4 separate regions of the Homo sapiens genome follow, and regions 1, 2 and 3 are each linked to region 4. The links are contacts of gene promoters, found by promoter capture Hi-C in blood cells and fetal thymus (Javierre and others, 2016). All regions are on one chromosome and are shown on one strand. Each heading gives the region's core, a stretch centred on a gene start or on the middle of the fragment in contact. The rest is flanking DNA. Distances are from core to core; before and after follow the strand shown. Region 1 has its middle 28 kb from the start of RNU6-8. Region 2 has its middle 44 kb from the start of RNU6-8. Region 3 overlaps ARHGAP5 (Rho GTPase activating protein 5). Region 4 holds the start of DTD2 (D-aminoacyl-tRNA deacylase 2).

Region 1 (3,759 bases), core at 873-3,372, 770 kb before region 4:
CAATAGACTGAACCCTAGAATCAGGATTCTCTGAGTCTCAAAGCAGCTTCAGAAGAAGAGGGCAAGTGGCACCTCCAGATATGTAAGCTCTGCACTGGCAAATCTCACCTTCTCTGAGAATGAGAGTAACAGACCGACTTGGCCTGCAGAAGATGGGATGGCATACTTCCACTCTCACACACCAGGAGCATCACCATGACAGTAACACAGCTGGCTACATAAGGACAAAACATGAGAAACACCTCATACAATAAGAGATATGCAGAAAGGTGGCAGGTATGAGCCTGTGTTGGAATTTCACATGGGCAAAAGTCTCCAGCTCCTTCCAAATATATTTTTACTGACTTAATTTGGTCAGGATTTTGGTGATACAGCTTAGCAACCAGCACAAAGTAACTTCCCTATCCCTTCCTTCAATACATCCACAACTCCTAATTCAGGTCTTCTCACTCCTTCCCAGTCAGGGTAAGCTCCAGGTTTTCAGTTTCCTAAACAGGGCCTGGGCTACTGCAATGATTCTTCATGCAGTCATGATTGAACTCTTGTTTCTAGGAGACTGAAGCAGGCTTCTAATAGCCACCAGTTATCAAGTACATGTTATGTTGATAGTTTATCTCTATTTATCACTATTTACGTTGATAGGTTATCCCTATTTTACAGAGAAGGAAGTTGAAGCACAGAGAAGTTGAATAATTTCTGCCTGCAGTCACATCATTAGTAAGTAGTAGAGCAGGCTTTCAACTCAAGCGTGTCTGATCTTTAAAATAATAATGGTGGGTTCTTATATAGCATTAAGTGCCAGGCACTGGTCTAAACACTGTAAATACTAACTTACTCAATCTTCACAATAACCCTAGGAGAAAGGTACTATTTTTACCACTGCCACTATACAGATGAGAAAACTGAGGGGTAAAGTTCAGCAACTCTTTTAAAGTTGCAAAGCTAAAAACTGGCAGCACCAGAATTCAAACCCAGGCAGGCTGGTTTTAGCATCCATACAGGCCTTACCCACTGCCCATACTGCCCCCTCTTGCTCTCTGTAACTGGTTCTTTCTATAATCATTCATTCAAATATTGCTTAGGCCCCTACTATGTACCTAACACCTTACCAGGAATTGAAGAAAGATTACCAGTATTTGACAGGATACCTCCCTCAGAGAGCAGTAATCTAGATGGGCAAAACCAGTGAAAGAATATAAGAAGGCTGTTACTAAAATGTGAGGTGAGGCAATGCATGCTAGGGTACCAGGAGGACTTGAGCACTGGCACAGACAGGAGGGCCTCACAGAGCACTGAAGGTGAGTTTCCAGTAGGGAGAATAACATGTGAGCAAAGATGAAAGTGAAGAGAAGGACTGCAGGAGGAAGGAGGTAACCCCTTCCCATGCCAGGCTCTGCATTCCTGTTTCACATGTATTATGTATCTCATTTAGTCCTCCTGCAGGCCTATGAAACATCCTTAAAAAAGAAAATGAGGTGCAGAAATTCCAGCAATTCATACATGATCACACAACAACCAAGTGACAGAGCTAGGTTTGTCTGCCTCCGACACCCTTTCTCTAAACCTGGAACCTTTTCACACAAGCAAATGCCAACCGATGAGGCCAGGGTAATAGGCAAACGTTGACAGGGCCAGGAAGAATCTAACCATTCTGATTTCTAGAACCCTTAATGGGCTCTTTGTCTTTCTTCCATTCCCCAGAGGAGGAGTACCTGCATTTTCAACTTAGAAATCTCCTCCTACGGTGTTCCCACTGCAAATAAGCTTCCTCTCTACAGACTGACAAATAGTGATTTGCCTATTTGCAGCCCTCTAAAGCCAGCCAAGCCAACCAGAGAATGGGCCTGGCTAAAGCAGGCTCTGGCTCGTGGATCCAGTTGGTGAGGGGATACAGGCCAGGCTTAGGGAAACTCAAGGATCCCCTAATACAGCTCCTTTCCCTCCTAACAGGGAAAAACTGAGGCCCAGAGAAGGGCATGAGTCACTCAAGGCTGTACATTCCCCTATCCCCAACACACACAAAAAAATTCTTAACCCCATAAAAGTGCTTTGGCAAGCAGGGATCTGAAATTCCTGCAACAGCTTGGGGAGGAGGTAACTAAGAATCTGCCTTCCCACATAGTCTGTCTTTAGACTCCAGTGCTGCTAAGAGTAACAAGTACAAATCTGTTTACTTAGCAAGGTTGAGGCTTGACTCAAATTTTGTGTTGTCAGGATGGGGATGGGGGTGGAAGGGCATCTAAATGTGAATCATTAGATCTTAATCAGCAACGTGGGGAGTGGGATGTTTTGGGAAAGTGTACCTTCTTGAGCACCTTGGACTTGCTTTATTCCCTCTCCAAGGAAAGTAGGCCTGATGGTACAGCAACCCCTTGCAGCCTCTTATAAGAGGCTCATAGTACTCATCACTGCCTATAACAGAAATATAGATGTTGTGATGCTTCTGCCTGTACCCTTAGGTGGCCCTCTAAACAAGCTTTAAGTAGTACACCTAACTGCAGCAAAGGAGAATCTGCTGGTCAAAGAGCAAAAGCAGCACCTATTACTTCATTGTCAGAGTGTTTAAAATGTGTATCAAGGTCATTACTCATCAAATTTTCCCTCTGGGAACAGATAAAGTCCGTTGTTCTTTCTAAGGCCAAACGACTGTGTGCTGCCTGCCATTAATATTTCCTGTCACTCTTCAATTCCATTTTCACTAATCATCACATTAGACCATAGCCAAAAGACGTAACTTTAAAAAAATGTGCTTACCTTAATGTGCTCAGAGTATTTATAGGTCAATTTCCCTGCTGGTTACTATTAGCATAGTTTTATAATGTATAAAGAGTATTTCTTCTCATTCTCTTTAACATTAGGTAAAATCCTCAGAGGGAGCAGAACCTAGATATGTTTAAATAAAACAGACCAATGACCTAGGGCTATAGCATTCACACAGCAGTGGTTTGATATGCTTTTTCCCCCCCCTATTCTAGGACTTACTGACCAAAAGCACACTGAATTATTTAGGAACCTAGAGACTGGATGACCCAAAGGTGAGGAAGGTGGACCTTTCCCTCTGTCTTTAAATTCTCTATTCCCCAAGTATGCCTCTCTGTGTTTGCCTTCTAGCTCTCTGGCTACTCACAGTTAGGTTTATTTTGTACCTCCCTTTCTGCCAAGACAATAAATGTTGGTATTTCCTTGAAAAAATGCATCTACTCCCATATCTATTCCCATATCTACATCATAAACTCCCAAATTTGTACTTCAATTGATAGCTCTCTTCAGAACTTCAGGTCCATTCATCCAACTGCCACCTACACATCTCTAGGATGTCCCACAAGCTCCTCAAACTCCAACTGTAGAAAACTGAACCCACTGTTTTCTCTACCACCTTTCCTCACCCATTTCTTTCTATGGTCCCTGTCTTATTGATGGCACCACACTCCATCACTGCCCAAATCAAAGACCTGGGAATCATGCTTCACCCTTTGCTCCTCCTCACCCAAACTTCCTCACATCCTGCCAATTCCCTCTCTTGAATCCATCTACTTTTCTCCACTCACTAGCCTAGTTCAGGCCAAAATCCTCATTTCCCCAAATTGCAATAACAGCGCCCTTACCTGTCTTCCAATCCATTCTTTACATTAAGCCCAGTAATCTTTATAACATATATATCTTAGCATGTCACACCCCTTGCTAAAAACCCTTCTGTTACTCCGCTCTGTTTTAGGGTGAAGCCCAAATGCCTTCACCAACTGAAGAGACCTGTACAAG
Region 2 (3,502 bases), core at 167-2,666, 790 kb before region 4:
CCTCCTGCTTCCTCCTGGAGCAGAGAGATTGTCCTACCTGTTTAAGCATTTGTTCTGCAGATTACCCTGGGAGGATGAAAAACCCCAAATACAAATTTTCTTCCATTTCTCTAATCACTTCCATGCTCTCAATATACATCAAGACCTTCAAGGTCATATTCAAAGAAAGGGGAATTCAGTCCCTTGTAGTAATTTGCTGAAAAACAGGCTTCTCATCTACTAAAAAACATGGGAAATGGGATTATAAGAAAAGAGATAATCATTTTGTGCTAGAATTCTCCAAGTGAGAGTCACTGTAAGGACATGGAGACAAGGATATAGGCCAGCTCAAGGTCATAGGTACAAGAGACAAAAGTACCCATAGGACAGAGATAAAGGCTGGTCCTAGGCTATAGGCACAGAACAAATTACCATTAGAACAGAGGTGAAGTCAAGGTTAGTAGTACCTGGTAAGAATAGTTCATTCCAGAACCCCAAAGATGAATAGGGGGTCCCTATTTACTCTGCTATCTCTTCTGTTCTCAAGTGGGTAATTGTGATGAGACAGGATCAAGGTTAAGGGTACCTGGTAAGACTGGTTCATTTCAGAACCCTAAGGATGAATGGGGGATGCCCTGTTCAGGAAAGGATGACAGGGAAATAAGAGGGTATGCCTTCTTTTTCCTTTTTGTCTCCTCTGTTCTCTCTTCACAGATGGATAATCATGTCTCCATACCACAGGACACACCCCTCAGAAGCATCCGCAAGAACAGGGAAAAGTTTGACCCCCAAACGCTAAAGGTTTGGATTTATATTTTTCTGTAACACAGAAAAGGTTAATATTTTTCTATAACACAGCCTGGGTTGAATACAAGCTCCAGGACTAGGAATCTTGGCTAGCGAATGGAAGCACACATTTTAGTACAATCTATCAACTAGATTTGTTTTGCCACTAACAGGGAAAAGGGACAAAAATCCCCTATGTACAGGCCTTCATGACTCTAGAAAATAACCCTGACCTTTGTTGGGCTTATAAAATGGATCCAGGGATGATAGCAGCCATAGTCAGGCAGCCCCCTCTGGTTGGTTTGGGAGACCTTTTATAAGGTTTACCCAGGGCTCAAGCCCCAGAAGAACCAAGGACAGAGCTTAGCACAAACCCCACTGCCCCTTCTACCCTATTATATCCAAGTCTCCCAGCCCTGGTGCTCTCCCCTCCCTACCCAGGGCCATCCTCTGGACCCCACCCTCTTAAGTATGCCCCCTTCAGGAGGTTAATGACCCTAGTGTACCCACCAGAGTCCAGACTGACTGCAAGACCTGAGCCAAATTAAAATGGAACTAGGGAAGTTTCTGGAGGACCCTGACAAATACATCAAAGGGTTCCTGTAAACTGGGCTTAACATTTGAACTCACCTGGAGGGACCTCTCAGTCATACTAGGGTAAACACTGTCTAAGGGAGAACACGACTACGTTATGGAGGCAGCCCAACAATTTGTAAACACAATGTACATGACTGACTCTGGTGGCTACTCTGTGGGGTCACCACAGTTCCCCAGGTCAACCCCAATTGGGAATACAATAACCAGTGGGGTATGTGGGCAAGGAACCACATGTTTCTCTGTCTGGTAGAAGATTGAAAACTAGCAGAGCAAAGCCTGTGAACTATACTAAATTTGCCTTAATAAATCAAGGCCCTCTTGAAAACCCCACCACTTTCCTAGAGAGGCTATAAGAGGCCCTAGTGAAACATACTAACCTAGACCTAGAGACACAAGTAGGGTAACTGGTCCTAAAGGGCCGTTTCCTAACTCAAGTTTCCTAACTCAAGATATTCAGAAGAAACTCCAAAAACTAGCACTAGGCCCCAACACCCCTACACCTGACATCCTTAAAATAGCTTCCTTGGTCTTTTACAACCAGGACCAGGAGGAAAAGGAAAGGGCTCAGCAAAATGAGAGGCAAAAGGAAAAGCTCTACTGGTTGTCCTACAAGTCTGCCAGCCCTTTCCAGGTTGCACTCAGAATACTCTCCCAGGTAACTGCCATCAGTGTGGGAAGCCAGGCCACTGGAAGGCAAACTGCCCCGATGGGACAAAGGGAAGAAGCCCTGCGCGGCTTGCCCCCTCTGCCACAAGCTCTGCCACTGGAAACAGAACTGCCCTGAGGGCTGAAGGGTCCCAGGGACAGAATCTCAACCCTGATGGCCTTGAGCTAAAGGGGCCCTATGCTCTGGTCTGCTCCCGGATTGAACATCACTATTGAAGGGACAGTGCCAAGGGCTGCTTTGGACGTGGCAGGTAGTACTATAAGTTTTCTTTTGGACATGGAAGTGGCCTGCTCGGTGCTTATCTCTTTTCCTTGGCAATTATCCTCCAAATCCTCCAAATCCGCCAGGTGATGGGGGTAAATGGAGTACCCATAACCCAGAGGTTTACTCTTCCTCCATGCTGCCTATGGGGGAAAACTGTCTTTGCTCATTCATTTTTAGTGTTGCCAGAATGTCCTCTGCCCCTTTTGGGTAGAGATATTTTGCGTAGACTCAGGGCTCAGTTAATCTTTCCTCCAGGGCCAACACTCCCTTTCCAAATGCGATCTTATGCCTCAAGGAAACCACACACAAGGATGAGCTGCCCACAGACCTTCCCAATAATCCAGAGGTCCAGGCCCCAGGAATACCAGGAAACACCATAATGGCAATGCCTGTAGCAATTCAGCTTAAAGATCCTTCTAGCTATCCTTGTAGAAGTCAGCTTCCTCTTTGGCAGGAGGCCAAAGAGGGACTTTGGCTGCTGATTGAAAAATTTCTAGAACATGAATTACTACTACCCTGTAATTCACCCTGTAACATGCCTATCTTACCTTTTAAAAAGAGCAATGGAGAATACAGGATGGTCCAGGGCCTGCAAATCAAAAAAGAGGCAGTAGTCTCTATATACCCAATAGTCCCCAACCCATATGTAATTCTAGCAGAAGTCCTTCAGATGCTCAGTGGTTTTCAGTCTTAGATCTCAAACTCACTTTCTTTTGTACCCTCTGAGACCCAACTTCCCAATTTCTATTTGCATTTGAGTGGGAAAATGAAAAAGGAAGGAGTCAACAGCTTACCTGGACAGTCCTTCTACAAGGCTTCAGAGATAGTCCCCATTTGTTTGGGCAAGTCTTAGCTAGAGATTTGCAGGACCTAATTCTTGAGGTGGGGAAGGCATCTCCTACAGCACATGGATGACCTATCAATCTGCTCCCCTACAAGAGTTAGGAATCCAACATCTAGTCCAGACACTAAATTTCCTCACAGACAGAGGGTATCCAAGGACAAGGTATCCAAGGCCAAGGCACAGCTACCAAGTTAAGAGGTCCAATACCTGGGAATAATCCTGACCCCCAGAGAACATAAGCTCTCCCCAGAACAGATACAAGCCTTCCTTAGTATACTTACCCCAACCACCTGATAGTAACTTTGCACTTTTCTGGGGATCACAGGATATTGCAGACTTTGGGTACTGGGATATGGTGGAATTGT
Region 3 (3,926 bases), core at 571-3,070, 650 kb before region 4:
GATGTGGAGAAACTGGATCCATCATACATTGCCAGTAGGGATTTAAAATAGTATACCCAGGCCGAGTGCAGCGGCTCATGCCTGTAATCCCAGCACTTTGGGAGGCTGAGGCGGGTGGATCACGAGGTCAGGAGTTCAAGACCAGCCTGGCCAAGATGGTGAAAGCCCGTCTCTACTAAAAATACAAAAATTAGCCAGGTGTGGTGGTGGGCATCTGTAATCCCAGATACTCAGGAGGCTGAGGCAGAGAATTACTTGAACCTGGGAGGCAGAGGTTGCAGTGAGCTGAGATCGCGCCACTGCACTGTAGCCTGGGCAACAAAGTGAGACTCCATCTCAATAAATAAATAAATAAAATAGTATACCCATTCTGGAAAACAGTTTGGCAGTTTCTTATCCTGTATTCGAATGTTCATGACAACTTTATTCAAGATGGACAAAAACTGGAACGACCTGATGTCCTTCAACAGGTTAAAACACTGATGTATCCATATTATGGAATATTATTCAGCAATAAAAAGAACAAACTGTTGATGCACGCAACAACTTGGCTGAATCTCAAGGGCATTATGGTAAATGAAAGTCAATCCCAGAAAGTTATATGCCCTGTGATTCCATTTATATAACATCCTTGAAATGACAAAATTATAGAAATGAAAAACAGAGTAGTGGCTATCAGTGGTTAGGGATGGGTGAGGAGAAGGAAAAGCATGTAGTTATAAAAAGACAAAACAAGTTAATTTGCTAGTGGATGGAACTGTTTTACATCTTGACTATGGGAGGGACACACAAACCTATACACATGAAAAACTGCAAAGAACAAAATATACACATGTACAAATTAGTACAAGTAAAACTGGGGAAATCTGAATAAGATCTGTAGATCATATTAATGTCAACACCCTGGCTGTGATATTGTACTATAGTTTTGCAGGATATTACCATTGTGGGAAAATGGGCAAAGAGCACATGGGGTCTCTCTTTTTTTTAAAAAAAAAAACAATAGCATATGAATCAACAATTAGCTCAAAATAGAATCTTTATTTCTTTAAAAAAGGTATTTGTGATAATGCAGGTAAGAAATAATGACAACCTCAACTAGTATGAAAATGGAACGGAAGCAACACATTTTATAGCAGAATAATGAATGATAAACAGTCGAGTATGATAAATGACAATAGCATGTAGCTCTGGCCCACAGTTAACATAATCCTGAAAATATATTCTTACCCAATCACGGTGAGGCTGGGGAAGAAAACGCTATGACCTATATGGAAAACCCTACCTTTCTTATTGAACAGATACAAACATGCCTTGTATGACTGACTTCTAGAACTGCATAGACATTTTTTTCAAGACATAGTCTCCTACACCAGGGTTTCTCAACTTCAAGATTATTGGCACTTTGGGCTGTATAATCCTTTGTTGTGGAAGATGGCCTGTGAATTCTGCAATTCAGTTTAGCAATTCAATGTTTAGCAGTAACCCTGGCTTCTACCCACTAGATGCCAGCAGCAACCTCCTACTTCCAGTTGTGACACCCAAAAATGTCTCTAGACATTGCCATATGCTTCCTGGAGGGCCAAACTGACCCTGGTTGATAGCCACTGTGCTAGACTAGTAAAAACAAAGACCAATAACTCAAGTTTGGGAAATAGCTACAGATATATTTCTGAAAAGCCTGAGAATTTTAACTTTAAAAAAGGTCCATACACGACTCAAGACTGAGAAACAATACTGCAGGTTATACAAAGTTGAATGATAACCATAACTGCCCTCAGAAAGGTTATAACATAGAAAAACAAAATTAAACTACAATATAAAGTGATCAGGCAGTGAGAAGCAGCATTACATTATAGTTTAACACACTGGTGTAAGAAAGAAGCCTTCAGGGGACCCAGCACTCTAAAGGTTTATTTAATCCCTTTTTTAAGCCTATAAAAGCCGTAAGTGCTGGCTGAAAGTCCAAACACACTTCAGAAAACTTACATTGTGAAGACTCTCTCACACCCTTTATGCTAACACTAGGTGAAAAGAGGAAATAAAAAACAACAGAGTAAATAAATGTGGTCTAGGTTTTTGTACATACTTATCAGGCAAACTAATTTTAACCTTGACTCAGGAACCTTTATTCTCTAAGATAACATCTTCCTAAAAAGCATTTCAACATATATTATATATGTGGCAGATATTTTATTAATGCCATTAACAACTTAACAAAAAATAAACCTGGAGTCACTTGGAGAAAGTTCTAGCAAAGCAACTAACTATTCAAGTGAATGGGTGGATTTCTACCCAGCTTCCCCAAATTTCAGTGTCTTCCTCCTCCCTCTCATCTTATACAAGGAGTTTCTTAAACTGGGATCCACAGGCCTTTAGAAAGTATTTGAAACCGTTAAAACTCCAGTAAAATTTTGTGCATGTGCATTTTTCTAGGGAAAATACCCAAACCTTGACTCAGATTTTCAAAGGCTAAGAACAATTTCCAAAAAGTTCAAAACAATTGTTATACAATGTATGCAAGTTGTACCCTTTATTTTGACTACGATACAATCATAAGATCTCTTTTGTCATATCCTTATATTTTGTTGTAAGGATTCTAAACATCAAAAATTACTACTATTTTTAAAAAGCAACCCTCCTATGCTCTGGGGTTTCTCTTCTTTAAAAGTCACAGATTAAGCCCTATTTACTTGAGTACTCCATCCACACTTTAGCTGAGATGACAGGAAAACATTACAGAGCAAGAAATCATAACACTGCATCTACTGTAAAAAACCTCTCCTAGGATTGACACAATTTGTAGTATACAAAATTTTGGTGTACATAAATTGGCAAACCTATAAATTTACCTATAGTCTTGCAATAGTAACAACTGTCCATTAACATAAGAACACAATTATCTATGTTACAGAAGTGCCTCCTTGACACATACTTAACATTTACTATTAATCTGCTGCAGAAATGAGTAACTTCAATAATCTGTACTATGCTTTTACAAAATATTCAGTACGCTGCTATAAACACTAAGAAAAAGTTTGTATAGAAAGCCAAATTTAAATTAGCGAAAATGTATGCCACTGACATAATCTTTCCAATTAAGTCTTAACAAAATATATAAATCAGAAATATACTTTAAAAATTAACCATCTAATTACATTTCAATCTGAATTTGAAAAGCAATAAATCATGATCAAATGGACAACACAGAATTCAAAGAAATGGCAAATAGTAAAATACTGCCAGAAATACTTGCACTACATATCCACACTTATGTTATCATAAATTGGTGTAGCCAGCACCAAAAATGCTGAAGAAACAAATTTTAACTTTATGAGAAATTATAGAAACATCACAGATCTAGTTAACCAGGTAGATCAATTTAGCCAGTTACCCAGGAAGAAAGCAATAGAAATGGTACTGAAGAAAGCCTAAGTAAATTCTTTCCAGATGAGATGAAATATGAGAAAGAACCAGAAGTCTGGCTAAACTTGTTGAAAATATAAAACATATTTAATTTTCAGCAAAATCAATTTTATTAGACTGAATTTCTTGAAAGCAGAGCCAATGAATGACCAAGTCATCCCCATATTAGTTTCTAACAGTGTTCAGGCACAGTAGGCATTTACCAAAATGCTTGTTGAATAAAATGAGTTTTCCTGAGTCAAAATAAATTGTAGTTAAACACATGAACAGTTCTTTTACAAAAACAAAGGCCATACATTTATGCTGACTTCAACTGATCACACTATGACACAGAGTACTGTGCTAGGCCATGGAGATCAACTATAAACAAGATACAAATCTTGCCTGCAGTAGACATTGTGGTTTTCCTATCTTAGAAATTATCTTAATTTCACAGAAAGCCAATTTCACTCAGAGCTCTCAGGATAAAGACTAAAACCTAAACTCATTTTTCTTTGTTT
Region 4 (3,871 bases), core at 896-3,395:
TTAGCATCAACTCTAAGGAATCTTTTAGAAATGGTTCTCAAACTTTTCATGTTTGTGAAATACTTTGAATGCCAGAATTTAGGGCAGCCAACTTAAATGAATTAAAGAAGGTAAAATAACACTAAATTAGTTATTGTACCATCTCAGAGGACATAGAACCCATCCACAATTAATCCCCTATCCATATGGTACACTTTCAGCATTGTAGGTGTTTGAGAATTATCTCTGCTCAATGATTTCTCATACAATGACAAGGCAAAGCTCTCTCACATTCCAGTGAACCACCATCTTCTTGTAAAGCCAACTTAATGCTATGCTTTGCCTTTAGTTCCAACTTGAAACAAATTGTACAACCTACAGCACCTCAATACTACATACAATGAACATAATTGTTTTATAACAAAAATTAAAGTTATACATTTGTGAAAATTTTGCTGCATACTATATCATCTCAGCACTCCAGTTGAGAACCACTGTCTTACCTGTTTTCAATTTCCCCCATTGTGGCTTACTGACATAATTCTAGTTTCTTTATTTCTAATGCTTTAATTCACATTTTACTATTTTATTGCATGCATGTCCTTCCTTCTTAAATTATTTGCAGAATGAAACTAAGTGTTCAAAAAATAAAATACAGAAAGGAAATGCTGTCTTTGGTGGCCACTCTCTATAGCCTTCTGCAAATAGAAGTAAAAAATAAGTGAGCCACAGCCTATTACAGTACCTACAGCAATGTCCACGAGATCCTCACTCAATAGGAGGGTTTAAAGTAATTAGTGATTTTTGAGAAGCTAACCATTACCATCCATACTCCATCTATTCTACTCACAGGAAGGGTTTCCCAATTTGTTAAAGAAACCCTCTCTGTAGAAAGATCTCTGCGAACCACATAACCTATTCTCTATAGACCTCCCTATTTCCTGCAGCCACATACAAATGGACACCAAAGTCTTTTCTTATTCTGGGACATAGCTAATGGTTTGTATGTCAAAGTTTCTTTCAGGCCTGTAAAATCTGAATCTGAGAGCCGGAGAGAAAAGAGACTCAGTAGTTATAATGACATAAAGGTGCAGACATGAAGCAATTCAACTTGTCTGTGCTTTGCAGACAAATGTCAACAACTGTTGGAATCCCTGCAATGCAACAATCAGAGATCATGTGAGATTTTGCTTTCTGTTTTTACTAAAAGTGTAAACCTGGCTGCAAGATAACCAGCAAACAAGCAGCTTCGATTTTGTGTACAAAGGACTGTTGATTATGCATGGACTATTTTCTTCAGTCACACTACTTTGTATGGATAGCAACACTGTCAGTGATGTCATCTTTTTAAACAACAGATCCGAATGTATAGGCACATTGTGTCAACTGAGCCCAAATCAATGACCTGGGTAATGCAATCAGGGTAACACTATTATTCCTCATCTAAACCATCCAAGCCCATAGACAAATAAATGCTAATCTGATGCATGTTTAAGGAATACGTTACATGGGAAAGAAAATCAAGCCCTTGTTTAGTTTTATTTACATTCTAATATGTACTTCCAGAAAATGCATCACAGAATTTACGTCATATGCATCAGAATAAGCTGTTTTATTTTTGTATTAGTAGCGGGCTAAGTTATTAACAATCATACTTTCTTGGATAAGAACATTTTTAACAAGGATATCTTCTAAAGAATGTGTATTCGTATAGCATACCAATACCTTTTCACAACTGTGGAATCAGAATAATTTATGGCATTCCCGATAGAGGAGGCAGCATTGTTTTTATTGATTGGAATAAGGAAAATTTTGAAGGATGTATATATAGCTTTTAGTTCCATCTCCGCTTGCTTTATGATTCGATTATTTGTTTACTTACTTTCATATGGGCATAACATGAATTTAAATCAAGCAGATTTAAAATTTTTCAACAGTTGGAACCTAAGCTTTCTGAGGTGAAAAATGTTTCTTAAAAGGTTTGTAGGAAAGAGATTTAACGAGTCTTTTCAATCGTTTAATAAAAGTATACACTGAGCGCCTTCTACAGAGTTGGGCAGGTGCTGCCGAGAAGCTTAGCGCTACGCCGGCCTCCAAGACCGCACATCCGGGACATTCGAGAGTCAGTCCGAGGCCCCGCCCTCCTAAGGGCGGGGCCACTGGGCAATCGGCGCAGGCCCTTCGTCGTGCCCCGCCTCGTCTGCCCCGCCAGCGCGTCGAGGGAGGGGCCAGCGACACATGGCCTAGTAACTGTCCGGCCGCGGCGCTGGCTTAAGCCATGGCTGAGGGTAGCCGGATTCCTCAGGCCCGGGCGCTCCTACAGCAGTGCCTGCACGCCCGGCTGCAAATTCGCCCAGCCGATGGGGACGTCGCGGCCCAGTGGGTGGAGGTAACGTCAGCCCGGCAGCTCTCGTTATCCTCCGGCGTGCGGGGCGGTTTTTTCCGCGTTGTCTCGGTGACTCGTCCGCTCTGTGTCTCCCTCTGAGACCGGCGGTCCGGCCGCGGGGATACCGGGTCAGCTTGAAGCTGGCCGCGGTGGCCTGCCTGGCTGCGCTTGTCTTTTCGGTCCAGCATCACCGTTCCCCAGCGCCAGTTGTAGCACCCGAGAGGAAGAGCGTGTCTCCCTTCTTGGGGGGACCACAGGTATTTGAAACTGAGTTCGGTGAACTTCAGGCCTTACTGTCTCAGACCCCTTGCAGCTCGTGGTCTATGCTGGTCGGGGGCAAGCTTGTAGGTCAGGTTTGCTGCAAGAGTTCATGATCTGCTTTGACTTACGCCTCAGATCGCGTCGAATTCCCCCCTATGTTGACTTGGTCTTAGCATAGAAATGAGATTTCCTAAGAAACAATTCTATTTCAAGAAGCCTTTTAAAAGTTTTGACCAATTTCCAACTGAGAAACAAAGACCTCTACTTTTATAACAATGTTGCCTTATCAAACACATTTCTCCAAAGAATTTAAAACATTTATGTCACTATGAGTTCCTTCTACTTTCATACATACTTTACTTTTTAAGACCGCCTGCCCCCACTGCATACAAAAACAAATAAAATTTTCTTTAAGGCCTCTGACGTATTTTTGGAGTACGTTGAAATGTAAGAAAAAAATTAGTTCATAATTAAGACTTTTGTAGATACTCAGAAACTTCAGTGTAGCAAAATCTCATTCGCTCGCCTTTTCTGCTGAATTCGGTCCCAGATCTAGCATTACTTAAAACAATTTTAGTTATTATTTTACATTTATTTTATTTTTTATATTTTATTTATTTATATTTTATTTTATTTTTTGAGATGAATTCTCGATCTGTCGCCCAGGCTGGAGTGCAGTGGCACGATCTCGGCTCACTGCAACCTCCGCCTCCCGGGTTCAAGCAATTTTCCTTCCTCAGCCTCCCGAGTAGCTGGGACAACAGGCGCAAGCTACCACGCTAACTTGTATTTTTAGCAGAGACGGGGTTTCGCCATTTTGGCCAGGCTTGTCTGGAACTCCTGACCTCAGGTGATCCACCTGCCTCAGCCTCCCAAACTGCTGGGATTACAAGCCTGAGCCACCGCACCCCGCCTACTTATTGTAAATAGTACCCGTGAACTATATGATGTGTGGGTGATTATTCTAAAATCAGAATCTGTTGCCCTGTGCTAATTTGGAAATATAAGCATAGAAATTCCTGTATTCTTATCTCTCTCCTTTCCCAGAAATTCACTTTTCTTATTTCTTATTTTTGTCATGATTTTTTGTGAGGTCTTGATTTCCTTATTTGAAATTTTATTATTTTATTTTGCCATCCTATCTAAAGAATTAACCTGCCAGGCGCGGTAATCCCAGCACTTTGGGAGGCCAAGGCCGGCGGATCACTTGAGGTCAGGAGTTTGAGACCAGCCTGGCCAACATGT

What was found. Contacts are between HindIII fragments. The CHiCAGO score rates a contact against its expected background, and 5 or more counts as called.
Region 1: a contact is called between a fragment that was not itself captured here and the fragment with the promoter of DTD2 in region 4, in 1 of 17 cell types (naive CD8 T cells). The highest score is 5.2, in naive CD8 T cells.
Region 2: a contact is called between a fragment that was not itself captured here and the fragment with the promoter of DTD2 in region 4, in 5 of 17 cell types (total CD4 T cells, M1 macrophages, megakaryocytes and 2 more). The highest score is 8.4, in total CD4 T cells.
Region 3: a contact is called between a fragment that was not itself captured here and the fragment with the promoter of DTD2 in region 4, in 1 of 17 cell types (naive CD4 T cells). The highest score is 5.1, in naive CD4 T cells.

The regions. Positions count from the first base shown.
Region 1 is chr14:32,229,181-32,232,939 of GRCh38, reverse strand. No RefSeq gene overlaps it. Among named protein-coding and RNA genes, the nearest start is that of RNU6-8, 28 kb to the right of the region's middle. The HindIII fragment of the contact is 712 bases long and covers 1,767-2,478 here.
Region 2 is chr14:32,245,528-32,249,029 of GRCh38, reverse strand. No RefSeq gene overlaps it. Among named protein-coding and RNA genes, the nearest start is that of RNU6-8, 44 kb to the right of the region's middle. The HindIII fragment of the contact is 8,217 bases long and covers 1-3,502 here.
Region 3 is chr14:32,102,552-32,106,477 of GRCh38, reverse strand. The region is part of intron 2 of ARHGAP5 (Rho GTPase activating protein 5); the gene reads right to left. Among named protein-coding and RNA genes, the nearest start is that of ARHGAP5, 27 kb to the right of the region's middle. The HindIII fragment of the contact is 5,331 bases long and covers 1-3,926 here.
Region 4 is chr14:31,455,780-31,459,650 of GRCh38, reverse strand. DTD2 (D-aminoacyl-tRNA deacylase 2) reads left to right here and starts at 2,145. Exons shown (of 3, transcript NM_080664.3): 1 at 2,145-2,368. The coding sequence starts at 2,258. RefSeq lists enhancers at 1,981-2,160, 2,301-2,510, 1,955-2,540, 2,541-3,126. The HindIII fragment of the contact is 653 bases long and covers 2,056-2,708 here.